Linked DNA regions of Homo sapiens: all the other regions are linked to region 1. The links are contacts of gene promoters, found by promoter capture Hi-C in blood cells and fetal thymus (Javierre and others, 2016). All regions are on one chromosome and are shown on one strand. Each heading gives the region's core, a stretch centred on a gene start or on the middle of the fragment in contact. The rest is flanking DNA. Distances are from core to core; before and after follow the strand shown.

Region 1 (5,719 bases), core at 1,830-4,329:
CCACTTATCCACACTGCCTCCTACAGGTAAGCACTTTCATCAGCTTCTTGTCTATTTTAATTTTTTGACGCAATTATGAAAAATAAACACGTATTTCTGCCCCTCTCCCTTCTAAAACAAAAGGTAGCCTACTACATACCCATTCTGCACTTTCTTGTTTTCAACTAACAACATAACTTGGAGTCTTTCCCTACTGGTAAATAGACAGCGTCTTCATTTTTTTTTTTTTTCTAAACAGTGCTCTATTGCTGGCCCCTTGGATTAGTTCCCACCTGTTACTCTTCTACTCAACCTTGTACCTACATCATTACATATCTACATAGCAATATATGTGGGATAAATGTTCAGAATAGTGCTTTAGCCTTACTGGACCAAGAACTATAGGTATTAGTCACTTCGATAAGTATTACCAAACCACCTTTCAAAGGAGTTAATATTTTGTACTCCCATCAGCAACGCCTGAGAGTTCTCCCTACCCATAGACTTCCCATCGCAGCGCACTGTGAACCTGGATCTTTGCCATTCTCAACTATTCCTAAGTATTCCGAGCAGCTACAGAAAATAAACACACAATAACCCCACAATGCATGGTTTTGTGTAAATTTTTAAGAATTTTGAGGTGGTAAAAGCATTAAGGCAAGCATGAGGTCCTGCATGCAGCTTCATGCAGCTGCACAGGTTGTAAATCTGTGGAAATTGTCCTTAGGACTAAACATCATAAAGAAATCATATATGTCACTAGTCATAGACATACAGGGCTACCACTTTCCTTGCCTCACATCTAAATCACTGAATAACTGTATTGATGGGAATAGGCCAAGTAGAGGCTCATGCCAGAACAGTGATAGGAAGAAGATCTGCAAGTCCAAATTGCACTTGAGTTCTGTCTTAATTTCTGACAATTCGGTGTCCATGAAGAAGCCTGACTTGCCCCTCCTAGAGAGGAGAGCAGCACACAATGCAGTGGGGTTCTTATTGCTTATACATCCTGAGAATGCTTACCCTTATGGTACTGGGAGCCCCAAGAATCAGTGTCAGTGGGCTGGAGATAAAGTCACAGGAAATTTTCTGAAACAACTTGGGATAGTCACTTCTAGAATAATGGAAGCAAGTAGAGTGGAGGGAAAGAAAAATGTTTGGTAGTTAAATATTGGGAGAGGATAATTACTGAAAGGCCAGTGCTATGTTGAAGATTTTATATATATGATCTGCAGATCTTCCTTCTTAGGGCTGCTCCACAAACAAGTAGAGTCTGAAAAGGAAAGAGAGAGACAGAGACAGAGAGACAGAAAGAAACATCTGCTCAAATAGACAAATAGACAATGGGAAAAGTAGAACTGAATCTGCCAAAACGATTAAAAATATAGCGAATAGTTGTGTGAAGATTGTAGCCAGAGAGAAAGACAATGTAATCATACATTAAATCAATCCACTCTTTCAAGCTATTACCGTATTTATAAGTATTACTCTCTAGACCGACCTAAGGCTTGACACCTTTCTCTGCTCTTTCACCCCCTCTGCTGGTAGAGTGCCAAGAAGCAGGTCTCAGATCAAGACACCAGCAGTACCAATGAGGAGATAAAGTGAGGCAGATATTTTATGCAGCTGTGCTTCTCAAATTTTAATATGAACACAGATTTCCTTAGGATTTTGTTAAAATACAGATTCTGATAGGCACGAGATTCTGCATTTCTAGCAAGCTCCCAGATGATGCTGGTCCTTAGACCACACTTTGCAAAGCAAGGCTTTCTAGCACCCAATAATCACCAGCACAAAAACCCCTCAATGATGTCTTCCAGTCTGACTTGAAAGTGATCTCTGTGGCCTTCAAGTAGCTCTACATTCAAACGTTGGTCTCATGCACAAATTGAACAGTTAAGTTCATTTGGAATATTTCTCCAGTTGCCTCAATGATTTACCTCCATACAAGTCATCAGTGACATCATGCGGTTGGTTATATTAGAATATTGGAATCTAGTTAGGAAATGTTGTGATGAGTTTGCAATATGGAATAAAATTTTTATTTTAGAAAAGACATTTACCAACCCCTCTCATTTTACAAATAAGGAGGCAGAGACACAAAGAGAATGCGTGACTTGACCAAGGTCACACAGCTGGTCAATAACAGCAAAACTAAAATCAAATTATGCCAACACTACTTCTTATGCTGTCTTTCCAGATTATTTACCATTTTTCTATTTCTCTACAGTGACCAGAATCATTTCTGCTAAATGTCACAGATCATTAAAGCCTGTGTGTCCAGTCACAAAACTCAGGAAACGTGAAAATATGCATCTCATCTCAACAGTTTTCCTCATATCTCATTCTTTTGTAACTTAGTACCCCACTCTCTTATCAGTAAAATTAGATTTTAAATATATATTAGAAGGAAAAAAATACCAGATAATTTCCTGTTAGCATCAGCTATCTTGGATGTTTAATCTTCATTTTGCTCCATCCTTTCTGCCTGAATTCCATTTATTAAAACAGAACACATAGGGGTTTAATCAATATCCTTAAATTTTCCACAAACATAACATAAATAAACTCCACGTTGTGAGGAAGAGAGGATTTTTAATACATATGTGTTGAATGAATGATCATTATTTAGATAAATGAATGACTGAAGTGATTGTTATATTCAGGTAAATTCATCATGGCTAGGTAGCAAACCAAAGACTTGTAAGAACCTCAAATGAGGACATGCACAAAACAGGGATGGCCATGGGCTACGTAATTTCAAGGTCTTTTGTCTTCAACGTCAAAATTCACTTTAGAGAACTTAAGTGATTTTCATGCGTGATTGAAAGTAGAAGGTGGATTTCCAAGCTGCTCTCTCCATTCCCAACCAAAAAAAAAAAAAAAAGATACAAGAGTGCATAAAAAGTTTCCAGGTCTCTAAGGTCTCTCACCCAATATAAGCATAGAATGCAGATGAGCAAAGTGAGTGGGAGAGGGAAGTCATTTGTAACAAAAACTCATTATTTACAGATGAGAAATTTATATTGTCAGCGTAATATCTGTGAGGCTAAACAGAGCTGGAGAGTATATAAAAGCAGTGCGCCTTGGTGCAGAAGTACAGAGCTTAGGACACAGAGCACATCAAAAGTTCCCAAAGAGGGCTTGCTCTCTCTTCACCTGCTCTGTTCTACAGCACACTACCAGAAGGTAAGATGATTATAAAATTGTAAATCCTGTTTGGCGGACAGTGAAGTATTTTTAAGGGATCAAAATATTATAAATTAAAATGTTGTTCTTTCATCTTAGACTTTATTACTAATAGTACACAGAGAGGAACTGAGATGGAAAAGGTTATATCAAATGCATTTACGTGTACTTTAATATAGCGAAGCCGCAAAGCGAGTTGGAAAAATAATTATATGCAAAAATATAAAACAGAAAAAAAACAAAGATTCAAATCAATGCACTTGTTATAATACTTAACTGTTATGAGAGTTGTATTTTAAAATAATTGGTAACATTTTGAAGAATAAATATTTTTCTTGGACTTGATAGATCTGTATACTACTTTGAACAGAAGGCGTCTTTTAAAGTAAGCAGAAATGTGTCCATTAGGGAGCCTATAACAGAAATTGCTTTTTACCAATTAAAATCTCTGGTTTTCCAAAAGAGCAAATTAAATAACATCTTTCAAATATTCAAATTTCAGACATCTATCAAAAAATCAAAGTCCATTAAAGCAACTCTTTGTAAATAAAACATAGCGTACTTGGTGCAGAGAACAAGTGTCATCTATTTGGGGGGTTTTCTTTGGATGCATCTGAGTGAAGCCATACATTAATAACTATTTACTATGTATTGAGGATAAATAGTAATAAAATCTAAAATAGCTACCCTCTGCAATAAAATTTTAATTTGTCTTTTTAGATTAGGCTCCTAGAGACAAAAAACAAATTTACAAAGATCTTTGATGGAGTAAATGATTAAGTGGTGTATTTTTCCATACATACTGAAGACCTATTACATAAAATGAGCTAACCAGTTTGAAAAAGGATTTATATGGACTACAATGCCAACACATTTGGGGATAGAACATAATGTCTTCTTTTTTAGGTCTAAGGTTAATCTTTCTGTAAGACTTCCTACTTATTATTGTTACCATACTTTCCTTTAAATTTTAGTGGAAATTTGTAGTTCTTACAAAACTGCAGGCTCTCTTTAGACTACCTAAAGAGGGGGGAAATTAACTGGAAATTATTTTCTTATTGAATAAGATTTTAATACTAAAATAACATAAATCTCTACTTTCTCAGCAATTGTATTCAAACAATTAACTCTATTCTTTTTTTTTTCACAATTCGATAGACTTTCACAAACAAATAAGTGAGATTTTTAAAGCCAGTTCTTTCTTCAGAAGAAGTCATTTATTGTTGGTAATATTATTAGATACGGAACGCTCACTTCTTTATGTGGTTTATGGTTGTTCTTTCTTCCATCAGCTCCTGAAGTGGCAGGATACCTCCTGCTCTAAATCCTCCTCAATGGAACATAATAGGAGATATTGCAAAACGCTTAGGACTTTGGGTGGAATGAATTTTTTTTTCAGTCTTGTGAAAGACTAAAAGCTTTTACAAGAAACTTTTCAACAGTGGTATAATTTTTAAAAGAAGTGCTTACTTTAATATTTAAATATTCCTGCAAGCACGGATATAACAATTGAGAGTTATAATCAGTAGATACTACCTAAATATATGGCAAGGTTTCCAAAGTCTGCCAACCGGTTAAACTGAAGCATAGCAAAATGTCAAATTGGTAATTTGATGTTGATGAATGAAGAAAGGTGAATATATCATTCCTATTATGTTCCTTTGTCTAATCATCCATTCAATGTACAAAAAACTTAATATTTCAAAGAAAAAAGTTACTGCTGCAGGTATTACAGTGTCTATGTTTTAGTGCCAGAGATAGTAAATACAGCTAATATATTAAGGAAAAGATTGATAGTTTAAAAATGATAATATTTGTGAAATCCTTATTCCAAACCAAATGTCATTTGCTAAAAATATTCATTCAAATTATTTGTGGATAAGCATAGTCAAACTTGGATTGAAATGCCCGCTTCTCAAAGGAAACACCATTGGGTTTCAAAGTAGCCGAGATCCATGACAAAGACGGACTTGACGTTCCCATTCAGAAAATAGAAGCGCTTGCTCTGTGGGGACATTCTGTCCCACATTCATGTTGGTCCCAGTCCCCGTCGACACTGCATCATCACATCCTTAACATACTATGGCTTCGCAGGGCATCTGCTTGTGACACAGGGACAAGCAATCAGGTGTATCCTATAACCAAGTCTATGGTGTCACCAGCAGTGAATGACATGTCCTCATCTAAGTCCAATTAGAAAACAACCTGGGGACTTTTATGACTTTAGAAGCAAGCTCTAATTTTTTTTTACATAGTAATCTCTTAGTTTTTTAGTTGTGATTGTTCACGTTGCCAGAAGCATTAGTTCTTGTTGCAAATTGCTTGTCTTTAAAATGATTTTTTCCCTTTAATTTAGAACAGGTCAAAGCACCCTAAAATACCTCAAATCTGTTGGCCGCTTTATAATTACAAAGTCTAGACCAAGTTACACTATTTAAAATATAAATGAATAATACATCTGAACCGACAGCTGGTATGCCAAGTTGTAGCCTGAGGCTGCTTTAAGATGGTTGAAATGCAGTATAATGTAAATGCTTGGAAGTGAAGGACT
Region 2 (5,719 bases), core at 1,055-3,554, 910 kb after region 1:
CAGGCCAGAGAGATGCTCAACACCCAGTGGGTTAAGGTGCCTCTTTTCCAAGCAGAAATGGACTGGGGCCCTTGTTAGAGTGGTGATAAACTGACAACATTGATTGATTGATAGATTGATTGATTAAGATGGAGTCTGGCTCTGTCCCCTAGGCTGGAGTGCAGTGGTGCGATCTCGGCTCACTGCAACCTCTGCCTCCCAGGTTCAAGCGATTCTCCTGCCTCGGCCTCCAGAGTAGTTGAGACTACAAGCATGCACCACCACGCCCAGCTAATTTTTGTATTTTTAGTGGAGATGGGGTTTCACCATGTTGGCCAGGCTGGTTTCGAACTCCTGACCTCAGGTGATCTGCCTGCCTCGGCCTCCCAAAGTGCTTGGATTACAGGCGTGAGCCACCTCACCTGGCCGACAACTTTAAATAATAAACCCCACTCCAGTGTCAGGTAATGTCAGGCCCCCTACTCTCTCTGTGGTTTATTCTTTTGTGTAAAAAGACTTTGGATAGGACTTAGGCTTCCTCTGAAACAAAGTACAAAGTCAGTGAAACACTGTATTTTATTTGAGGTAAGGGCTGGTTATGGAAAAAACAATAGTTTGAAAAAGACAGGAGAGCTTGAGTTGAGTTCCAACTATTTGAGTAGGTGTGAGGGACTCATTTATTCTCTTTAGATACAGTGGGGTTTTTTTGTTTGTTTCTTTATTGTTTGTTTTGTCCACACAAAAAGAAAGTTGAATTAGGCAGTCTTTAACATTTTCTTTTAAAAACAACTATTCCTTGAATTATTTTAAAGTGAAAAGTCATTATTTTTACAGTCCTTCCAAAGGATATTAACAAGATAGTTTTTGAATGTATTCATGGTATAGCCCTAAACAACAAAGGACACATGGGCAAGTGCCAGGATATCCAGGCCTTCTGGATTCCAAGGGGACATTCAACCATGGGAGATGGGTTAAACGTCAAAGGGTTGCATAATCAGGTACAGATTCTCTGAAAATGTGTGAGTGATTTTGAGATAGACATAACCCTCTATAGTCAGGACAAGGGGATAACATGTTTGAGAACTTACTTCAGTCCTATTAGGGGATTGATGCTTCAGAGAAAAGAGGACTACAATAAGATGAAAGCTACAGCTATGCAGTAAATAAACGTGGCATAATCATTCTGAATATTCTAGTGCTTGGTGCACTTTAAAGTGTGTGAATTCATCCATGAGGAGCTCTGAGGATGGAGGAAGTTGGCAATCTAGGAACTGGTCCTAGAAATGACCCAAGAAACTTGCTTCTTTGTATCTTTTTGGTGATAGAAGATGATGTTTCTTTTAATTTGAGGCCTTCTTGAACTGTAAGCTCCCACAATCTTTCGCTAAACAGACTTCATTCACATTCTGAATCTGGTTTTTGTCTCACACATATTAAATTTTACAAAACAGAAAGAAACAATAGAGCTTATTAGGAAAAACTTGTTTTGAATAGTAAATTAAGCATAATGGAAATAGGCACATGTTTTAGCACGGTTTTTTCCCCTTTTTTACCAATTGAACATTTACATCTTTTTCAAAGTGCTGTGATTTTCCCCTTAAGTCTTAAGCTGGCACCACACACTTTCAACAAATGAGACTTACATCACTTGTATCTGCTGAGAGAAATCATTGTAATACTGTGGATTCCAAATGCACAGCCTTCCAAAAAAGAGTTTTAGTCACCCCTAAACTGTATTAATCAAATCAATGTGGCATTCTAAGAATCCAAAGAACTACTTAATTTCAAAGACAGTGTAAATCAACTGGCAGCTCTGACTGATTTCAAAATATGCCGTTTTCAGAGACTGGAAACCTGTATATTCAGAGGTACACCTGACTACATGGTGTGTTATTAAGAGATATGCCCCAGGTGGAGGAATCTTCAAAGCCAATATATTTTCTTTATAACTGGTGTCAAATTGATGTATATATTAAAAAATCTTGGAAAATGATCTCAAAAAGGAAGTAACAGCCCAATGAGCCATATGTTCAGGGAACCTAACAGGTTTCCATTGGGACCAAATTTCACTTCACCTTTTTGTCCTTATGTGCAAATAAAAACTTATCTGTAAATACACCGTTAAAACAGTCATGCAAATTTGTGAGGTCTGTATACTGAGAGGAAATTACACTAAGCCTGTATAAACCAAGTTATTGGAAGATAAATAATTTGGTGAGATACATAACAACATGGGATTGAACTAAATTTGTTTGAGCTCTGTAGATTCACAGCTTTAGAGAGACATTGCTTCTACAGAATTGGTTAATGAAGCAAAGGCTGGTGAATAGTTAATAAATTGCTTAATTTTGATGCTGATGGAACATCTGAATCTCCACGTTTACATGAATAAATATAAAGTTAAAATTTGTTTTGCTGTTAGATAGGTTGCTATTTTAACAGATTCAGACACAAGGGAATTTTCCAAATGCCAGCTAATACTGTAGCATCAAGAAGTCTGTATATGCCAAGGGCAGAGGCCTGCTTAGTGGTTTTCCAAAGAGTGGAAAGCAGAAAGCATTAACATTTACTTACACAAAATCCTTTATGTAACTCTTCTAAGATTTTTCAACTTAAAAACTTTAAAACGTTCTGTATGATTTTAGTAGATCTGAAGTTTGCATTCAGCTATTCTATTGGTATGCCTGGGCATATTCTAAAAGGAAAAATGATTCACTCTGCACTTGTGTAGTTTTTCACATGACTAGGATCAATGAGGATGGTATAAAAATACCAAAATTTACTCATTTTAATTTCATTTTTGTGTACTTTTATCATGAAATATTACAAAGCAGAATAATATAAATGAAACCTTTGTGTATATATGACTGAGCTTTAGCAAACCTTATTTTAAATTGATTTTTTAAAAAGGAACAATGGTGTGTATAAAGTTATGCAAAGGTAGGGGTCAGCAGAAGAAACAATTACACTGCACAGGTTTTTAGTTACTCTGGAGGTCCATCTATGGCTTACGGGGAAGGAAGTTTTATGATGTTTATAAGGGTAGTTTATGTAAACCCGTAACAGTAAAAATATTTTAATGGTAGGAATAAAAGTGCCTTTTAAGTGCAACAATCAGCTTTTACGGTCAAAAAGTAACAGGAGGTTGTATGAAATCTCAGGTCCCCGCCTGCATCAACAGGTATGAAAGGCTTTTTTCAGCAGACTCGGGTTCCGATGGGCTCTTTGTCGGAGGGGCGGCCAGGGCGCTGCTGTTTTTGACTAGCTTGTCTCGGGCCAGAGTATAGAACAGAGCGGCCAGGCGGGGAGCTGGGCCTCCAGATCAGGTCCTGCCCCCATCTGCCCCACAGTCTTCGCGGCAGGGGGGAGCGCGGCCCGCTTCTTTCCAGGCCCTTCTCTCCCCGCGACGGTCTTTCGAGGGAACTCTCGAGGCCCAGACGGCCCCTTAATCTAGTCTTGGGGTCAGGAGGTCAGGCCTTGGAAGCACAGCTAATGCTAAGGCCCTTTATGTATCTTCGCTGCGATCATTTAAACCGTGGACCGGTAGCTCTGGCAAAAAAGGGGCTCCAGGGGTCTAAGAGCCGCAGCGCGCGAGGCGTGGCGGGGGGCGCTGACCTCGCCGACTCGCCGCAGGCCAGCGGGGCGCGGCCACTGCAGGGCGGGTTGGGGGCGGCTGGAGGCCTCGGGGTGGCGGCCACGCTCGGGCAGGGCAGGAGATCTGCGCTCAGTCCTGGAGCCCTTCTTGGCCTTTGTGGCCCTGTCACTCTTTTCACCCCTGGCTGGCCCTAGCCCTTTCTGAATTCGCCTGGACTCCCAGTCGCGCTCGCTGGCCGACGCGGTCGATTCACCAGACAGCGAGTGGGCGTGAGAACGCAGGCTCTTCGGCCGCTTCCCCAGTACGTGGATCCCGGAGCGCGGGTCCTCGCCCCACCGCCCCGGGGAGTGGGCGCGCGGCGCAGGCCGAGCCCTCGGGCGAGCCCGCGCGGGGCTGCACTCCACCGGGCCGGCGCTGGGGGCCGCGCGGGGGCTCCTGGCCCGCTAGGGACTCGGTGGCGGTGGCTGGGTTCCACTCGCCAGCGGCGGGAAGGACGCGCGGGAAAGCGAGGGAGCAGGAAGCGGGTGGCGGCGGCGGCGCGGGGCCCGCTGGAAAGGAGGGAGCGCCGCAGGCGGGAGGAGGGAGCGCGGAGGAGGGAGGCCGGGAGGAAGGAGGGAGCGCGGCAGGCAGGCGGAGGGAGGGCTGATTAGCATGCAGCAGCGCTCGCGCGCCCGGCTCCATTGTTTTAACACCTCCCCTCTCCTCCGCGCCAATCTGTCACCGTTCAGCAGGCGAACGCTGCTGCCTCAAATGCTGCTCTTCTCAAATGAGACGGATAATTAGTTGCCCCGCACGAATGCCGCACTCTTCTCACCCCTGATTGCTATCACCTTCTTGCTCCTGGCAGTTTTGACACCTCGTAATCAGCCTGCTGCTTTTCTCTTTTCTTCCCGACTTCTGCTTCCCTCCCCCCGCTTTCCTTCCTAGTTTATTTATTTATTTATTATTATTATTTTAAATGCAATCCCGGTGCTTATTTGGGCGAGTCCTCCGCCGAGTTAACCTTTCGCGTATACATGTGTGCATTTATCTGTATATGGGAAATTGGGTGTCTGTGCGTGAGCGGGGGGCGGGCTGGCAGTTTTGCGGGAAACACTGCTTCCACGCCGAGAGAACTCGCTTCTCCTAAAGATATTTTTGGGAAGGGAGGAGTTGCAGAGAGGGACGGGAGGGGAGAGTTGGGGAGACCTCAATTAATGCTTTAAAGATCTCTTAGAAATTAACAAACTGGGGAGTCTTGGAATCTGCTGTCAGAAGCGTGTTTTCCCCTCTCTCCTCTAACAAGCACTGACAGTCTAATTACTGTAGCTACAAGCAGCTGTCGAGGCAGCAGCCCGGGAGAGGAGGCGCCACAGGCTGGGCGCGCCCGGCCGGCCCCTGCGCCCAGCCGAACCGCCGAAGCACGGCCCGACTCGGGGAAGGACTCAGGGAGGATGGAGAGGGGCAAGGCCCCGCGCCCGAGAACCCCGGCGGGCCTGCGAGCCAGCGGACACGCTTATTGTTTCCTTAAGTCTTTACCTTGAAGGTTAAAAGATGTGACGAAAGGAGGGGACGTGGGGGGAGTGGGAAGAAAATCTTCTAAGCTTCTATCCACCCCTTTTCTACCTCCTCGAGCTCTCCCTCCCCCCGTGTTGGTAAAATAACCACGCAACCCGGGGCTGAGGGGGCGGGGTGAGCCAGGCTGGAGTGTAAGAAAGCAGATGTCCCCGCTGGCAGCAGCCTCAGCCTCCGGGGAAAGCTGCACCGGGGGGGCCCTCCCGAGGACATTCACCTCCCACTTCTCAGGCATCCCGCTCACAACTGCCTCGCCTCGGCGGGGGTGGTTTTTTCAGACTCGGCGTTTCGCGTGTGCAGCTTTTTTACCTGGGAGCTGTTCTTACCCGGCCACGCTTAGCAGATGCCAAAAGCCAGACCCTGCACGACTCAGTCATGAGACAGAGGGAGAGACCTGGCGGGTGCCCACTCCACCTTTAGAGCGGTGACCCGCGCTCCCTCTGTAGAGCAGGGCAGGGGGCTGCTCTCCAGGCTGCCTTTCCTGTGGCCCCAAAGGGTCTATGTCCCTCACCACGTGGAGCTTAGGGTGCCGCTGGAATCCAGAAGAAAACCGAGTTTGCTAGTCCTGCTAAAAGTGGTGGGGGCGGGGAA
Region 3 (5,719 bases), core at 1,261-3,760, 740 kb after region 1:
CGGGCCGGCGGAGGCAGCCTGCAGCCCGCCTTCCAGGCTAACTGACCGCGGGACTCGCCTGGCTGGCGGCTGGCTGGCTGGGGCAGACCGGCTTTCGCACCTCTGGGAGCGAAGATAAGCCGGGGCACCGGAAAAAAGGGGGAAGCCGACCGCCCGATCCTCAGGGCCCTTCTCCTAGTCCTCCTGTAAGGAGGAACAAAGATTTCCACAACCTGCAGATCTTGTGGGGTTTCTTCTCAAAATCAATCAGTATTAGTACTTGGGAAGGTCGGGCACTCCAAAATTGGGCCGACGGAGGTGTTGCCAATGAGAACAACTTTACAGATTTAATATAAATTTGGAGGGTGGAAATACAATTTTTAAGTCTTTTTAATGAAGCAAAGAAACGTGTATCCAGTTCCATATGCTGCTTTACACTGACGAACTGGATGTCAGGGAGGAAGGGGTGAGAGAGAGAGAAAACACGAGCGCTTGAGCCACTGACCTGCCCATTGTTATTTGAAGCTCCTTTGTTGTTCGTAAGTTTTAATTTTCCAAAAGAGATTTCTTGGCGCATCCAGTGAGCCCCAGTGTTGGGGGAATCCGGATGCATATAGACCCGATTTCCTAGAGAAAGAAATACATTGTTTACATATGCCCCTGGCACTGCCCAGTCCCAGCTCCTCACCACGTAGGACACACACACACACACACACACACACACACACACATACACACACCTTACTCCACCATGAAGCCCATTAACTGGGGCTTTTTTAGGCCATTCTTTCTTCCTATTAACTGGGGGTGATTAAAATAGCTTTTGCATAATCCTCCCCCTTCTCGCAGCTCAGTCTGTCCCCCTGTCCCCCTCGTTTCCTTTTAGAAGTCATTGGCCGATCGTTTTAAAAGTCGCTCGAGCCAGTCCACAAAGGCTTTAATTAATCATTCTCACCTAAATAAGTGTCAAGAAAATGTGTTAATTGGAAGGACTTGCCTTGCACATTGGTGTCCGCTTTGCCGCAAGGAACCCATTTGCCTCCTTGAAACCTCCAGTGATTGGGATCCGCCAAAATCACATCCACAAAAATATTGTAATGAGCCGTGGGATCGAGACCAGAAATGTTAAAACTTAAAAAAGGAAACATGCGCCTATTTAAATTAAGGGGTGGGGGGAGAAAACAAGGAAAAAAGAAACATAAATGTTAAAGATTAAATGCAAGAAGCGGGGCGCCAGTTAGCAAAGCAAAACTTGTACTTGCAGCAAATAGGCGAATATTTGCTGGATTAGAAAAAGGGTGGTGGGAGAAGAAAAGAAGTGCAACCCAAATCAGGGAGAGCGGCGGGTGAGCTGGAGTGGGAAGGTGGCAGTTATCACTGCCCAGGTGGAGAGCGAGGTTGGCGACCTGCGTCTCCACCTGTCCGTGCATGCCAGTGTTGATGCGTCCCTCCCATCGCCCAGCCGCTGGCCAGGGCTCTTCCTTTTTCTTGCCTTCCTCTGGCCACTGACTGGCTCTCCCACTATGTTCCTAGAACGGGGTCCCCCCCACCAACATCACCCTGGCGGTTATCCCTTCCACTTTCCCCCTTTCCAAAACTAGCCAACTCTAGGGCGCCTTCCACTCCGCTCCCGACCCCAAATCGTCGCTGCCGCGGCAGTCACAGCCTAGGTGCACTTGTCCCCGGCTGCGCCTAGAGCAGCGGCAGCCAAAAATGTAGTATTACCTTCCCTGTTTGGTGATGATCATCTCCGTTTGGTGCCGGTGAAATTTCAGCCAAAGGGGCCTGTTGCACAGGTACACCTGTGCTTTGCCGGGCACCAGCCCCGGCTGGGTGGAGGAGAACTGGTAGAACGGAGCTCCTTGGTAGGAGTGGCCGTACTGCTGTGGGTAGGGGTAGCCGGCCGTGGGGTATCCCTGCGGCGAGGAGTTGGACAGGAGGCTGTTGTAGGCTCCGTTGGTGATGACCGGGTGGTGGGCCATGTAGCGGCTAGGGCTGCCGATGGAGAAGGCGGGGTGCGCCGGTCCGTGCTGGCCGGGGTACGGGAACATGGCACTGGGAGCAGTGGCCGCAGACTGTGGCTGGCTGGACTGAGAGAGGAGGTAGCGATCTGCAGCAGAGCCATCGAAACTGTGACGAAGCTCAGAGACCCCGTCCAAGACAGGAGAGAGTTTACTTCTCTGGACGTCCCCTGGTGAGTCCTTGGAGTCAGGAAAATTGTCTGTATCTGACTGATTCGTCATCCCCCTGGTAATTTTTTTCAAAGGTGAACTTCTCTCCAGGTTGTCAGTGGTCGAGATAATGGGATGATCGTGCAAGACAAGCTCGGATCCGCCTGAATGTGGGTAGCTGCTGCTCACATTGAGAAATTTCTTGGAGAGCATGATAGAAGGAGAAAGGCAGTGCTCCAGCTGCATAGCTCTAGAACCTGAACACTCGCCCTCCCGTCCCTGGTTTTTAAAGTCCTATTTATCATAAACTAGAAATCCACAGACCCCCTCACTAGACAGAAAGCACTTCAACCAGCAAATGCTTCTCAAAGGTTTGATTTACTTTTTTTTTTCCCTGGGAGAAGAGATTGGCCAATTGACACTATGCAGCAATCAGAAAAGGCTCACTTTTGATCTTGCTGCTTGTGCAGCCGATGAAACGGCTCCTGCCATTGGTTAGCTGCTGACAGTAATTTAATTAGATAGACATTAATTAGGATAATCACCTGGCTCCTGGTAGCGACGATCATGGCAAATTGAAGGGGATGATTTTATTGTTGGCTTGGGGGGTGGGGAATGTGTGTTGGTTTACGTGAGCACTGTTGTGTCACCTTTAAGCTCTGTGACCACTGCTTTAGGAAGATTCAAAGATGTGGAATTTACTAAACATTTCCTACCTTCCCCCCCTTCCCCCCTTTAGAGCGGAGGGGCGGAGGAGGGAATTCGACGATGCTAGGAGACTTTTCGGATCTGAATGAGCCAAATATTCAGTTGAATGTAACGATTTCAAGTGCAAAGTATACAAAGCGCGAGCCGGTGGCCTCTTCTCGCCCTGTAAAAGTTCCAGAGTCTGTCTTTTCCAGCTAATACAAAAGCACACAACACCTGAGCTGGTGCTTTGTGAGCAGATCCTACATGTCCTCGGCGCCCCCACCCCCACCTTTTAAACTGCAAACATAAATAAATAAATCCCTGCTGCTGAGAGCCACAGCGACAAGCAGAAGGGGGGAGGAGAGGGGGCGAAAAGCAGCAACTCACCCACCAATCCACCCACCTCAGGAAGGTTCGGTTTCTTGGTTGAGTACAGAAACAGTGACAATCTATGATCTCCTTTTTAAGTTTTGAAATAATCATAAGCTGTCGGGCTGAAATGCCTTAATGTATTTGCAGTGATGTTTACCGGCTCTTTATTAAATATTTTATCAGCGCACTTGGTTGCAGATTATCTGAAGAACATCTAACTGGGGGCAGGCGCCATGCATCCTTCTCGTCCCTCTGCATTTCCTTCTCTCTGAGGTACTGGCTTGGCGACAGGTTCAAAAGCCTCGCCAGGAAAAGAGAGGGCCGAGTCCCCGTGCAAATGGGCTCGTCAGAAGCGCTGATCTGGGGAGACAGAGTGGAAGTGGTGTCAACACAGTAATCGCTACTGAAAACGTGTGTGTGTGTGTACGTGTGTGTGTTTAATGTTTATATAATCTGGAGGGGAGAAAAAGCATCCATGCCAATAATTTTTAAAAGGAAAAAGAATCTAAAGAGGAATAGAAAAAAACCAATTTAAAAAGATGTTGGCACAAATAAATAGCACGAGGCCCGAAGAGACCCCGAGGTGTAGGGAGGAAGTCTCCCAGCACCGGCTCTACAGAGGAGCCCAGCCCTCGGCCTGAGCCAGAGGGCCAAGAGCGGCAGAGGCTTTTTATCTGCCCAAAGCTGCCTCCCGCGGCCCGGCGCTCGCTGACCTGCCCTCCCGCGGCTTTCCTCCCGGACGCCGAGCCGCGCGGGAATGAGCAGGAGGAGCGCCGCCCAGAGCTCCGCTCGGCCCCGAGAGCTGGCCGGCCCGAGGGCGGGCTCCGCCCGGGAGACTGAAGGAGCAAGGGGTGAGCTGCGTCTGGCGCAGACCCCAGGGGCACACGCTCTTCCCGGGCTGGAGGAGCGGCCTGGGCACCTCAGCCGGGGGAGCCTCTGGCTTCGAGCGAGCGCGTCTGTCCTACCCGGGCCGGGGCAGCTCCCGGAGTGAGAGCAGCGCCTGGGGACATTGGGTGGGTCCTGAGCATGGGCGGAGACGGGTTATCCAGACTCGCCGCTTCGCCACTGTGGTGCATTTTCAGAGCTGCGCCTCGGTGGGCCGAGCGGTCAGCGCTGAGCCGAGACTGCGCCCCTCCAGGCGGGCTGAGCGCCTTGGCTGCAGAGGGCACCAGCTGCGGCCTCCATCAACGCGCCGCGGGCAAGGCCCTGCGCTGGCGGCCTGGGCAGGGCAGGTTGTTGACCAGATGTCCCAGACTAAAGCCGAGACAATTTTCTGGGATAAAAAGAGAGCCAGACCCATTTTTCCTTTCGAAAGCAAACCTCAGCTCCTGGCCAGGAAGCTTCATAAACAAGCAGTCTTAGCTGTTGAATCGTTGGGGTGCGGGGGAGGGGAGTAGGGGATGCCATTTGACACTTGTTTTTCTGCCCTTGACCTTCTACTGCCATTTGCCCTCATGAGAGGCTTTTGACCTCTTGACTACTTTTGGCTACTTTTGTTTCCTTCTTTCTCCATCTTCAACTTCTCTGTCCCTGAGTGCCTCTCCCTCCGGTGCTTCGGAAGACAGTACTTTCCTCCGTTCTCAGTGGGACAGAGCCTTAAATGTGTAGAGGTGAGACATCACCTGGGCTCTTTTTGAGGCTTTGCCATTCTCGACACCCTAAACTGTTTTTTTTTTATGCTAAATTGAAATGTTAAGGTGTTAAAGGATAGAAAAGGGAAAGAGTGCACCTCCTTCAGAGTTTTTAAGGAATTGAATTGATGTGCTCTCTGACCCACTTTGGATTATCAGTACCAAATTCAGTGATTGCTCACATATAGGGTATGCCTTGAATTTATATATACTAAGGAAAATGAAGGCTTTCCTCAGAATCACCACATGTGCCTGTGAACCGTACTTCTAAAAGAAGGCCAGGGCTTCTCAAACCTTAAAGTGTATATGAACCACACCAGGATTCTTTATTATGATTCAATAGGCCTGGGGTGGGGCTTGCTTTCTGTATATATAACGAATTTCCATAAGACCCAGATGCTATTGGTCCAGGCAGATGACACTTTGAATAGTGAGGCCGGAGCTTTCAGTGCCCCCGTATTAGTCTGAGAGAAAAGCAGGGACATTTCTGCACTAGAGACAAACAGTTTTGTTTCCAGAGCTGCTTTACCTCTGCATGATGGAGGGGTAATTGCGTGCACATGTGCGCGCATACATATACAGTCTTAAACAGCTTACTAAGTTTGTGATTAAATGCATCTTTTCAGTGCCTAACTGGGCCTGGGACATCAGGCTGCTGCGAAAATAGCTGTACATTCCAAGACAAAGGTGTTCACTGAGCCTTGCCTCTTAGGGCATCTTGATTTTGATCGACTCCAAATCTACAAAAAGTAATGTAGGTTTTTGCTAGCAAAGATTTTGACAAGGTTCTGAAACTGGGAATGTCACCAACATGAACTAAGTGAGAGTAAGTGGTGTGTGGCTATAGGGAGTCCAGGAAGATGGGGTGATCAAATA
Region 4 (5,719 bases), core at 1,499-3,998, 590 kb after region 1:
AAAGACTGCAGTCATAACTGAGTCTCAGATGTAAAGGCATTAGTGGAGAGTAAAGAACAAGTCTCTCTGGAGCCCATATCTGGCTTCAGTTCCAAGCATTGCACATTTAGTGACAGGGCCCTTTATGTTCACCCCAGGATCACACTTCTCAGAGCCCCTTCACCAATCATGCTACAACTGCTGGCAGAAAGGACCTTTCAGCTCCATGGGGCTGGAGTTGTTTCCTGCTTATCTTGGACTAGGGGTGTTCCCAGGAAAGCCTCAGTGTTAGAATGCAATGGCCCAGAAACCACAGCTTATCCGTTCCCAGAAGGGAAGACTTTCACAAGTTCCTTCGTTGGAAAGAAATTCGACTGATATAAGAAGTTTGAAACCCCCAATCAGACTTACAATCTCCAAATTCTCTCTAATGAAGCTCTTGGGAGCTGTACAAAAAGGCTGGACTAAGTGCAATACCACCATAAAGAAGAGTAGAGTCAGTGGTATCACAGTGCTCTTTAAAGGATACTTCATCCTATTTTGTAGCTGGAGTTTCATGCATCTGAAGCTGCAGTACTGGTGTAAGTAGTGTTGACCTGGACGTCACTTAAGAAATCTTTGGGCTCTGTTCTGTTCCATTGGTCTATATCTCTGTTGTGGTACCAGTATCATGCTGTTTTGGTTACTGCAGACTTGTAGTATAGTTTGAAGTCAGGTAGCGTGATGCCTCCAGCTTTGTTCTTTTGGCTTAGGATTGTCTTGGCAATGCGGGCTCTTTTTTGGTTCCATATGAACTTTAAAGTAGTTTTTTCCAATTCTGTGAAGAAAGTCAATGGTAGCTTGATGGGGACAGCACAGAATCTATAAATTACCTTGGGCAGTATGGCCATTTTCACGATATTGATTCTTCCTATCCATGAGCATGGAATGTTCTTCCATTTGTTTGTGTCCTCTTTTATTTCATTGAGCAGTGGTTTGTAGTTCTCCTTGAAGAGGTCCTTCGCATCCCTTGTACGTTGGATTCCTAGGTATTTTATTCCCTTTGAAGCAATTGTGAATGGGAGTTCACTCATGATTTGGCTCTCTGTTTTTCTGTTACTGGTGTATAAGAATGCTTGTGATTTTTGCACATCAATTTTGTATCCTAAGATTTGCTGAAGTTGCTCCTCAGCTTAAGGAGATTTGGGGCTAAGACGATGGGGTTTTCTAAATATACAATCATGTCATCTGCAAACGGACAATCTGACTTCCTCTTTTCCTAATTGAATACACTTTATTTCTTTCTCCTGCCTGATTTCCCTGGCCAGAAATTCCAACACTATGTTAAATACAAGTGGTGAGAGAGGGCATCCCAGTCTTGTGCCAGTTTTCAAAGGGAATGCTTCCAATTTTGCCCATTCAGTATGATATTGGCTGTGGGTTTGTCATAAATAGCTCTTATTATTTTGAGATACGTTCCATCAATACCTAGTTTATTGAGAGTTTTTAGCATGAAGGGTTGTTGGATTTTGTCAAAGGCCTTTTCTGCATCTATTGAAATAATCATGTGGTTTTTTTCTTTGGTTCTGTTTATCTGCTGGATTACATTTATTGATTTGCATATGTTGAACAAGCCTTGCATCACAGGGATGAAGCCCACTTGATCATGGTGGATAAGCTTTTTGATGTGCTGCTGGATTCGGTTTTCCAGTATTTTATTAAGGATTTTTGCATCAGTGCTCATCAAGGATATTGGTCTAAAATTCTCTTTTTTTGTTGTGTCTCTGCCAGGCTTTGGTATCAGGATGATGTTGGTCTCACAAAATGAGTTAGGGATGATTCCCTCTGTTTGTATTGATTGGAATAGTTTCAGAAGGAATGGTACCAGCTCCTCCTTGTACCTCTGGTAGAATTTGGGTGTAAATCCATCTGGTCCTGGACTTTTTTTGGTTGGTAGGCTATTAATTATTGCCTCAATTTCAGAGCCTGTTATTGGTCTATTCAGGGATTCAACTTCTTCCTGGTTTAGTCTTGGGAGGGTGTATGTGTCCAGGAATTTATTCGTTTCTTCTAGATTTTAATACCACACATCTACAACCATCTGATCTTTGACAAACATGACAAAAACAAGAAATGGGGAAAGGATTCCCTATTTAATAAATGGTGTTGGGAAAACTGGCTAGCCATATGTAGAAAGCTGAAACTGGATCCCTTCCTTACTCCTTATACAAAAATTAATTCAAGATGGATTAAAGACTTAAATGTTAGACCTAAAACCATAAAAACCCTAGAAGAAAACCTAGGCAATACCATTCAGGACATAGGCATGGGCAAAGACTTCATGTCTAAAACACCAAAAGCAATGGCAACAAAAGCCAATATTGACAAATGGGATCTAATTAAACTAAAGAGCTTCTGCACAGCAAAAGAAACTATCATGAGAGTGAACAGGCAACCTACAGAATGGGAGAAAATTTTTGCAATCTACCCATCTGACAAAGGGCTAATATCCACAATCTACAAAGAACTCAAACAAACTTACAAGAAAAAAACAAACAACCCCATCAAAAAGTGGGTGAAGGATATAAACAGACACTTCTCAAAAGAAGACATTTATGCAGCCAACAGACACATGAAAAAATGCTCATCATCACTGGCCATCAGAGAAATGAAAATCAAAACCACAGTGAGATACCATCTCACATCAGTTAGAATGGCAATCATTAAAAAGTCAGGAAACAACAGGTGCTGGAGAGGATGTAGAGAAATAGGAACACTTTTACACTGTTGGTGGGACTGTAAACTAGTTCAACCATTGTGGAAATCAGTGTGGCGATTCCTCAAGGATCTAAAACTAGAAATACCATTTGACCCAGCCATCCCATTACTGGGTATATACCCAAAGGATTATAAATCATGCTGCTATAAAGACACATGCACATGTATGTTTATCGTGACACTATTCACAATAGCAAGGACTTGGAACCAACCCAAATGTCCAACAATGATAGACTGGATTAAGAAAATGTGGCACATATACACCATGGAATACTATGCAGCCATAAAAAATGATGAGGTCATGTCCTTTGTAGGGACATGGATGAAGCTGGAAACCATCATTCTCAGCAACCTATCACAAGGAGAGAAAACCAAACACCGCACATTCTCACTCATAGGTGGGAACTGAACAATGAGAACACTTGGACACAGGAAGGGGCACTTCAAACACCGGGGCCTGCCGTGGGGTGGGGGGAGGGGGAGGGATAACATTAGGAGATATACCTAAAGTAAATGACGAGTTAATGGGTGCAGCACACCAGCATGGCATATGTGTACATATGTAACAAACCTGCACATTGTGCACATGTACCCTAGAACTTAAAGTATAAGTGAAAAAAAAAGAAAGAAAAAGAAATCTTTGGAACTACAAGGGGCATACAATGGAGCTGACTTCAATACATAGTTAATAATTTAAAATGGCATTTAGAGCAAGAAGAGGGAGTGAAAAGAATAAAATTATTGAAATCTGTAACAATTATATAGAAAGTAAATTTTTTATTAATGTGAACAAAAAAATGAAAAGGTGACTGCTATACCAGATGCACAGATATCAATGGAAGGACGTAGGAAACATGAAAAAGTAGGGATTTTTGACACCACACAACAATTGCATGGCAGCAGATCCAAATAAAAAAGAATGCCTCAAAATGCCAGATAAATAAACCAAAATATTGATTTTAACAAAGCTCAATGAGGTGCAAGAGAAATATGAAAAACAGTACAAAAAAGTTCAGAATATGGATGAGAAATTTACCAAGGAAATAGATATCTTTTAAAAAAATGCAGATATTGTGGATGTAAAAAATTCATTGAAGAAAATACAAAATACATTTGAAAGCTTCAATAATAGACTAGATCAAGCAGAAGAAAAAAATCTCAGAACTTGAAAACAAATCTTTTTCTTTCCTTCAATTTTTATTTTACGTTCCAGGGTACCAATGCAGGATGTGCAGTCTGTTACATAGGTAAATGTGTGCCATGGTGGTTTGCTGCACAGATCAACCTATAACCTAGGTATTAAGCCCAGCATCCATTAGCTATTCTTCCTGATGCTCTCTCCTCCCACCCCTTACCCTCTGAGAGGCCTCAGTGTGTGTTGTTCCTCCCCATGTGTCCATGTGTTGTTATCATTCAGCTCCCACTTATAAGTGAGAACATGTGGTATTTGATTTTCTGTTCCTGTATTAGTTTGCTGAGGATAATGGCTTCCAGCCATATCCCTGCAGAGGACATGATCTCATTTCTTTTTTATGGCTGCATAGTATTCCATGGTGTATATGTGCCACATTTTCTTTGTTTAGTCTATTATTGATGAGCATGTGGGTTGATTCCATATATTTGCATTGTGAATAGTGCTGCAATGAGCACATGCATGCATTTATCTTTATAATAGAATGATTTATATTCCTTTGGGTATATATCCAGTATTGGGATTGCTGGATCAAATGTTATTTCTGCTTCTAGATCTTCCACAATAACTTACATTCCCACCAACAGTGAAAAAGTGTTCCTTTTTCTCCACAGCCTCACCAGCATCTGCGCTTTCTTGACTTTTTAATAATCACCATTCTGACTGGCATGAGATGGTATCTCATTGTGGGTTTGATTTGCATTTCTCTAATCATCAGTGATGTTGAGCTTTTTAAAATATATTTGTTGGCCACATGAATGTCATCTCTTGAGAAGTGTCTGTTCATGTCCTTTGCCCACTTTTTAATGGGGTTGTTTGTTTTTTTCTTGTAAATTTGAAAACAGGTCTTTTGAAATATTCCAGTCAGACAAAAATAAGGAAAAAACTAAATAAAAGAATTAAAAAAGGCTTTGAGACATCTGGGACTACACAAAGTGACCAAACTTATGTATTATCATTATTCCCAAGGGAGCAGAGAGATCAAATTTAGAAAACCTACTTTAGAAAATAATCAGTGAAAAATTTCCAAGTCTATCAAGAAAGTTGACATCCAAATAGAGAAGGTCCAGCCATCCCTAGGCAAATACATTACAAAAAGGACTTCCCATAGCATATTATATTAAGAATGTCTAAAGTCAAAGTGAAACAAAGAATTTTTAAACTGACTAGAGAAGAGCACCTAGTCATCTATTAAAAAAAAAAAAAAAACAACTCTCATCAGACTAACAGTGGACTTTTCTGAAGAAACCTTACAGGCCAGAAAAACATTAAGTGGCATTTCAAAGTCATTTTAAAAAACTGCCAAAAGAAATCCCAGGACCAGATAAATTTGCAGCCAAATTCTACCAAACATACAAAGAAAAACAAAGATGAATTCTCCCAAAACTATGCCAAAAAATTGAAGAGAAGGGAATTCTCCCTCACTCATTCCATAAGGCCAGGATCACCCTGATACCAAAAGCAGACAAGGACACAACAAAAAAAGAAAAGTACAGACCCATATCCCTGATTAATATAGATTCAAAAATCTTCAACAAAATACAAGCAAGTTGAATACAACGGCATATCAAAAAGATAATACACCATGATCAAGAGTGATTTATACCAGGAATGCAAAGATGGTTCAACATTCCCAAATCAATAAATGTGATACATTACATAAACAGAATTAAGAACAACAACCATATGATCATCTCTATTAAAGTGGAAAAAGCAATTGATAAAATTCAATGCCCTTTCATCATAAAAATCCTCAACAAACTAGGCATAGAACAAAACATACTTCAACAT
Region 5 (5,719 bases), core at 914-3,413, 550 kb after region 1:
AAAACAGAATATCTAAAATAAAACAAGTAGTTTGGGGTACTTACACATCTTAATCTCAAAGCTCACTCTAAAGCTACAATAATCAAGATAATGTGGTACTGGCATAGGAAGATAGATAGATAGATAGATAGATAGATAGATAGATAGATAGATAGATAGATAGATAAAATAGAATTGAAAGTCCAGGAATAAAGTTAACTTTCATATTATATACGAAACATACTTCTTAAAAGGTGCAAGACAGTTCAATGGGGAAGACAGGGTCTTTTCAACAACTCATTCTAAAACAATTAGATATCTACATGCAAAAGGACTAATTTGAACCCTTGCCTTATGCCATACACGAAAATTAATGAAAAATAAATCATGGACCTGTGTGTAAGAACTGAAACCACAAAACTTCTTAGAAGAAAACATAAGGGCAAATCTTCATGACTTTTGGTTAAGCAACGATTTTTAGATAGGACACCAAAAGAACAAATAATAAAAGAAAAAAATAATGTAGACTTTTTGTGTTCCAAAAGACACTATCAAGCAAATAAAAAGACATGATCTAGACAGACAGAAAACATTTGCAAATTATAGATCTTATAAGGGACTCATCTATAATCTATAAAGAACTCCTAAAACTCAATAAGAAAGGACAAAATATTTGAATCGATATATTCCCCCCAGAAAAGATATGTTAATAGCCAGTAAGCACATTAAAAGATGTCCAACATCCCTAGTCATTAGGAAAGTGCAAATCAAAACCACAGTGACATACCAGTTCACATTCTCTAGAATGGCTATAATCAGAAAGACTGATAATAACAGTTGGAAGGCTGTGGAGAAATTGGAGCACTATATGTTGCTATTGGGACTGTAAAATGGTGCAGACACCTTGAAAAAGTTTGGCAATTTCTTAAAATGTTAAACATAAATTTACCATATAACCCAGCAATTTCACTCCAAGATGTATATCCAGAATTTTACCAACCTAGGTAAGACAATTAGGTATTTCCCCCAAAGTGAAAACATCTATCCACACAAAGAACGGTATCCAAATATTAATAGTAGCACAAGTCATAGTAGGCAAAAAGTGGAAACAACACAAATGCCAGACAGCAACTGAAAAATTATAAACAAAAAGGGGTATTACAATGTAATACTTTTTTATAATAAAAAATGAAGTACTGATACACAGTACAACATGAATGAACCTCAGAAACATTATGCTAAGTGAAAGAAGTCACATACAAAAGACCACATGCGGTATGATTCTACTTATACAAAACATCCAGTAAATTCAAATCTAGAGACAAAAAGTAGATAAGTGATTGCCTAAGACAGGGTGGGAATGACCACAAATGAAAATGAAGTTTCTCTTCAGGGTGATGGAGACTTTCTAAAGTAAGAATGTGGTGGTGGTTGCGCAGCCCTTTAAATACACTAAAAATCATTGAATTGTATTCTTAAAAGTGGTAAATTTATGGATGCAAATTATACCTCAATAAAACTGTTCAATAAAAAGCAAAGACAAATATAAAATACATCTGACAAAATACAAAACTTTAAGGAGGTTATTAAATGACCATCAGTACAAGAAATTAAGTTAAAGGGAGCTACTCAAAAAGAAAGAAAGATATCACATGGAAAAGTAGATCTACACAAAGAATTGAAGTACTGGAAATGGTCAATATGCGGTATGTGTAAAACAAGCTTTTTCTTATCTTTAAAAACTCTTAACAGGTAACTGTTTAAAGCAAAAATATTATCAGTGTCATATGGAGTTTATAACATAGGCAGTAATAAATATATGACAAAACTACCACAAAAGAGAATAAAAGGAAATGGAAGTATACCATTGCAGGTTCTTATCCAATATGTCAAGTGAAAAAAAAATATTAGAAAGTAGACTGTGGCATGTTAAAATATAATTTGTAAATGCTTAAGCAAACACTAAAAACAAAACAAAAAACACAGTTTAAAAGTCAATAAAATAGATAAAATGTCATCATAAAAATTACACAATCCAAAAGAATACAGGAAAAAGGCAACGAATGCGTCAAATAGAAAAAAAATAGAAAGATGGTTGAGGTATACTCCTCTATATAAATTACACATTTATTATAAAGTATCTTGTTAATCTGTTACATACAATTTCCTCCCTTATTCCTGCTTTTTTATTCCTAAAATATGCCCAGCACATAGCAGACGAGTAATAAATATATGCCGAATGACAGTTAAATTATTAGAAGAATGGCTGACAGATAAATACAAATTTGAAAGCCACTCATATGGTTTTCTAAGAGTTATCTTTTAAGAATGTAGCTCCTTTCTGGGATGAAATAATAAAATATATAATTAATAAAGAATTATTGATTTTGTGAACTGTCAAAAATCTTCAACTTCTGTCTCAGACAAACTTCAGAAATATGAATTTTTAAATCCACCCAGGCAATAAAGCAATTAAAAAGCAAAAGAATATATATTCCCAATAGTATTTAGAATGTGGCCTTATATGCTGTGGGCACCTTCCCTATTCCTGCTAGGCTGAGTCATTATTTTCTACTTCTATTAATACCAGCAAGTATTACAAAAACCAAAACTTGAGACTGGCTTTTGGTTTAATGGGAAGCTTATGAAAATCATCACCTTTTATCAAGAGCATGCTTCAAAATGAAAGTCAGCTATTGCCTTTTCGGTTCCTATGAATTACCTGTCTAGATTAAAGTGTCTGCCTTAATAGTACTTCATTGTCTTGTTCTGCTAACTTGTCTGCCTGGTTTCTGGTCTTCTGCCTTCCCCTAATGTTCAATTGGTTTATCTATAAACCTGAATTCTGCCTGCCTGCCTGGTTTCAGATTCACTTCTTCACCTGGAGTCACAATTCATATCTGACTCAAAAAGTCCAATTATCTGCCTCCAGACAGATTATCTAGTATACCCAAATGCTAACTTATCTCAGTCTCAATTCTGTTCTGCTCCCTGCTGCTTAAGCCCAAATGAATACTCTGAAACTTGTACCCTAAGATCCATAAAAAAATGAAGTCATTTTAGCATTATGTATATATACACAAATTACATTTATATTAAGACTAGAAACAAGTATTCAAGAACACTGAGCTGGAGTCAACAATCATTTTCTGTCTAACACAGTTTGAAAACCAACTGTACTCTCTACAACCTGGTTTAAATAACCCAATTTTTGTTAGCACTCATCTCAGTTGTTTTAGCTAAATCTCAAATAGATACATTAGTATACGCTAGAGAAATGTACAGATTTCTGCATGTGCCATGTATACCCTATATATTTACTATCATCTCTTGAAATTATTATATGTGTCAATTAACAAAAGCTAAGGGAAAATATCAACTGAAAAACATTTTAATCTGATTATAAGATTTTATTTTTGGTTTACTTTACACTTTAATATGTAATAACTCTCTGGGAAAAACTTGGGTTCCAGTAAGATTTAATGACTTTAAGTGTTTACATATTTCTACTTTTCAGCACAAATTTGTGATAACATATAAACTATACTTTGAATGTTATGTGCAGTGTTCAGCATTTTACACAGTAAATTCACTTACTGTTAAAAACATTAAAAATATTTTAATTTTTCACTTAAGTACAATATTCATTAAGCAACTCTTAAATAGTTAATATGAAAGCACATGGATCAGTACACTACTAAATTGTGAGAAATTAAATGTTATAACCCCAAGTATTGCTTTAGGAATAACATTTTAAATGTATGTTCCCCTTTAACATAAAATAAATGAATAGGCAACTCAGACCTAATGAAATAATCGTATTTATAATTCAGCATAATGTATTATAAGGGTTTTTTATTTGACTACAGCTTATATAATAGTATAGAGCATATTTGCTTAATCTCATTTAGTGAGACCCAGAAACTATTTACTATGCAAATCACAATTTTTTAAAGCAAAATTTAAAGATTACGACAAAGAGGAAGAAGTAGCCAATTCATCCCAATAAATTTAATAAGAAGTTCAGGCATCTTATAATCAGAAAACTCTATTGAGGTAAAATTCATATAACATAAAAGACACCATTTTAGTCATCTTAAAGTGCACATTCAGTGGCATTGAGAACATTCACAATGTTGTGCAACCATCCACCAATTTCTAGTTCCAGAACATTTTCCCTGCCGCAAAAGAAAGCCCATGCCCATTCATCAGTCACTCCTCATTTGCCCCAAACCCCATGCCCTAGCAATCAGTAACCTTTCTGCCCCTGGGAATCTGCCTATTCTGGATATTTCCTACAAATGGAATCATACAGTATGTGGCCTTTTATGACTGGCTTCTTTCAGTTAGTATGAAGTTTTCAAGCTTCATTCTTATTGTAGCATGAATTAGTACTTCATTCCTTTGTATGCCTGAATGACATTCTATTGAATACATATACTGTATTTTGCTTAGCCACCCAACTGTTGATAGACATTGTGGTTGTTTCCGCTTTTTGGATATGGTGAATAGTGCTATGAACATTTGTTTACAAGATTTTGTTTGAACATCTGTTTTCATTTCATATGAGTGTTTACCAAGGAGTGGAATTGCTGGATCATATGGTAACTGTAAGTAGGACTTTTTGAGGAATTGCCAAACTGTTTTCCACAGAAACTGCACAATTTTATATTCCCACTAGCAACGTATGAAGTTTACAATTTCTCCACATCTGCACCAACACTTGTTATTTCCCATTTTTTAAAATAGCCATCCTAGCAGTGGAAAACAACATCTCATTGTGGTCTTGATTTACATTTCTGTAGTGACTGATGATGTTGAGCATCTTTTCATGTGCCTACTGGCCCATTGTATATCTTCTTGGAAGAAATGTCTATTTATGACTTTACTCATTTTAAAAACTGGGTTGTCATTTTGTTGTTGAGTAGTTAGGGTTTTAACATATTCTGTATACTAGTTCCTTACCTGATACAGGATTTGCAAATATTATCTCTGATTGTGTGGGTTGTCTTTTACTTTCTTGATAGTGTCCTTTCATGAACAAAAGTTTTTGATTTTGATGAAGACCAATCTGTTTTTTTCTTTTGTTGCTTGTGTTTTTGTTGTCATATCTAAGTAGCCAAAGCCAAACACTAGGTCATGAAATTTACTCCTACACTTTCCTCTAAGTTTTATAGTTTAGCTCTTACCTTTAGGTCTTTGATTAACTTTAAGTTAATTTTGTATACGGTATGAAATAAGAGTCAAACATCATTCTTTTGGGTGGGCGCAGTGGCTCATGCTTATAATCTCAGACCTTTAGGAGGCCAAGGTGGGTGGATCACTTGAGTCCAGGAGTTCAAGACCAGCCTGGGCAACATGGTGAAACCCCGTCTCTACCAAAAAAAAAAAACAAAAAAACAAAAAAAAATCATTCTTTTTATCAGAAACATTTTTATTGAGATCATGTTCATGTAATATAAAATTCACCAGTTTTAACTTTTAAAATAGTTTTTAGCATATTCACAATGTTGTGCAACTACAGCACTAATTCTGGAACATTCCATCACACCAAAAAGAAGTCCCGCTCCTAATCACTGGCAACTACTAATCTCTAATTTCGTTTCTGTCTCTGTGGATTTGCCTATTCTGGACATTTCATATAAATGGAATCATACAATATATGGCCATTGTGTCTGGCTTCTTTTATTTAGCAGAATGTTTTCAAGGTCATCCATGTTGTAGTATGTATAGCTATTTC

Evidence for each region. Contacts are between HindIII fragments. The CHiCAGO score rates a contact against its expected background, and 5 or more counts as called.
Region 2: a fragment that was not itself captured here is called in contact with the fragment with the promoter of GCG in region 1 in 1 of 17 cell types (megakaryocytes); the score reaches 5.2 in megakaryocytes.
Region 3: a contact is called between the fragment with the promoter of TBR1 here and the fragment with the promoter of GCG in region 1, in 2 of 17 cell types (total CD4 T cells and M0 macrophages). The highest score is 5.7, in total CD4 T cells.
Region 4: a fragment that was not itself captured here is called in contact with the fragment with the promoter of GCG in region 1 in 4 of 17 cell types (activated CD4 T cells, total CD8 T cells, naive CD4 T cells and 1 more); the score reaches 6.4 in activated CD4 T cells.
Region 5: a fragment that was not itself captured here is called in contact with the fragment with the promoter of GCG in region 1 in 7 of 17 cell types (naive CD8 T cells, total CD4 T cells, fetal thymus and 4 more); the score reaches 7.3 in naive CD8 T cells.

What each region holds. Positions count from the first base shown.
Region 1 is chr2:162,149,607-162,155,325 of GRCh38, reverse strand. GCG (glucagon) reads left to right here and starts at 3,079. Exons shown (of 6, transcript NM_002054.5): 1 at 3,079-3,168. The region is part of intron 1 of LOC101929532 (a long non-coding RNA gene); the gene reads right to left. RefSeq lists a promoter at 1,470-3,191. The HindIII fragment of the contact is 4,864 bases long and covers 1-4,588 here.
Region 2 is chr2:161,237,299-161,243,017 of GRCh38, reverse strand. The region is part of intron 3 of PSMD14-DT (PSMD14 divergent transcript); the gene reads left to right. Among named protein-coding and RNA genes, the nearest start is that of LINC01806, 4.6 kb to the left of the region's middle. RefSeq lists silencers at 3,717-3,786, 3,877-4,246 and an enhancer at 4,078-4,634. The HindIII fragment of the contact is 5,710 bases long and covers 1-5,159 here.
Region 3 is chr2:161,413,088-161,418,806 of GRCh38, reverse strand. It overlaps TBR1 (T-box brain transcription factor 1), which reads right to left and starts at 2,510. Exons shown (of 6, transcript NM_006593.4): 1 at 1,705-2,510; 2 at 977-1,131; 3 at 485-606. The coding sequence starts at 2,396. RefSeq lists enhancers at 1,762-2,384, 4,146-4,295 and silencers at 3,806-3,855, 3,926-4,095. The HindIII fragment of the contact is 4,993 bases long and covers 1-4,554 here.
Region 4 is chr2:161,563,330-161,569,048 of GRCh38, reverse strand. It overlaps the pseudogene MTNAP1P1. Among named protein-coding and RNA genes, the nearest start is that of SLC4A10, 58 kb to the left of the region's middle. The HindIII fragment of the contact is 2,220 bases long and covers 1,639-3,858 here.
Region 5 is chr2:161,602,117-161,607,835 of GRCh38, reverse strand. No RefSeq gene overlaps it. Among named protein-coding and RNA genes, the nearest start is that of SLC4A10, 19 kb to the left of the region's middle. The HindIII fragment of the contact is 919 bases long and covers 1,704-2,622 here.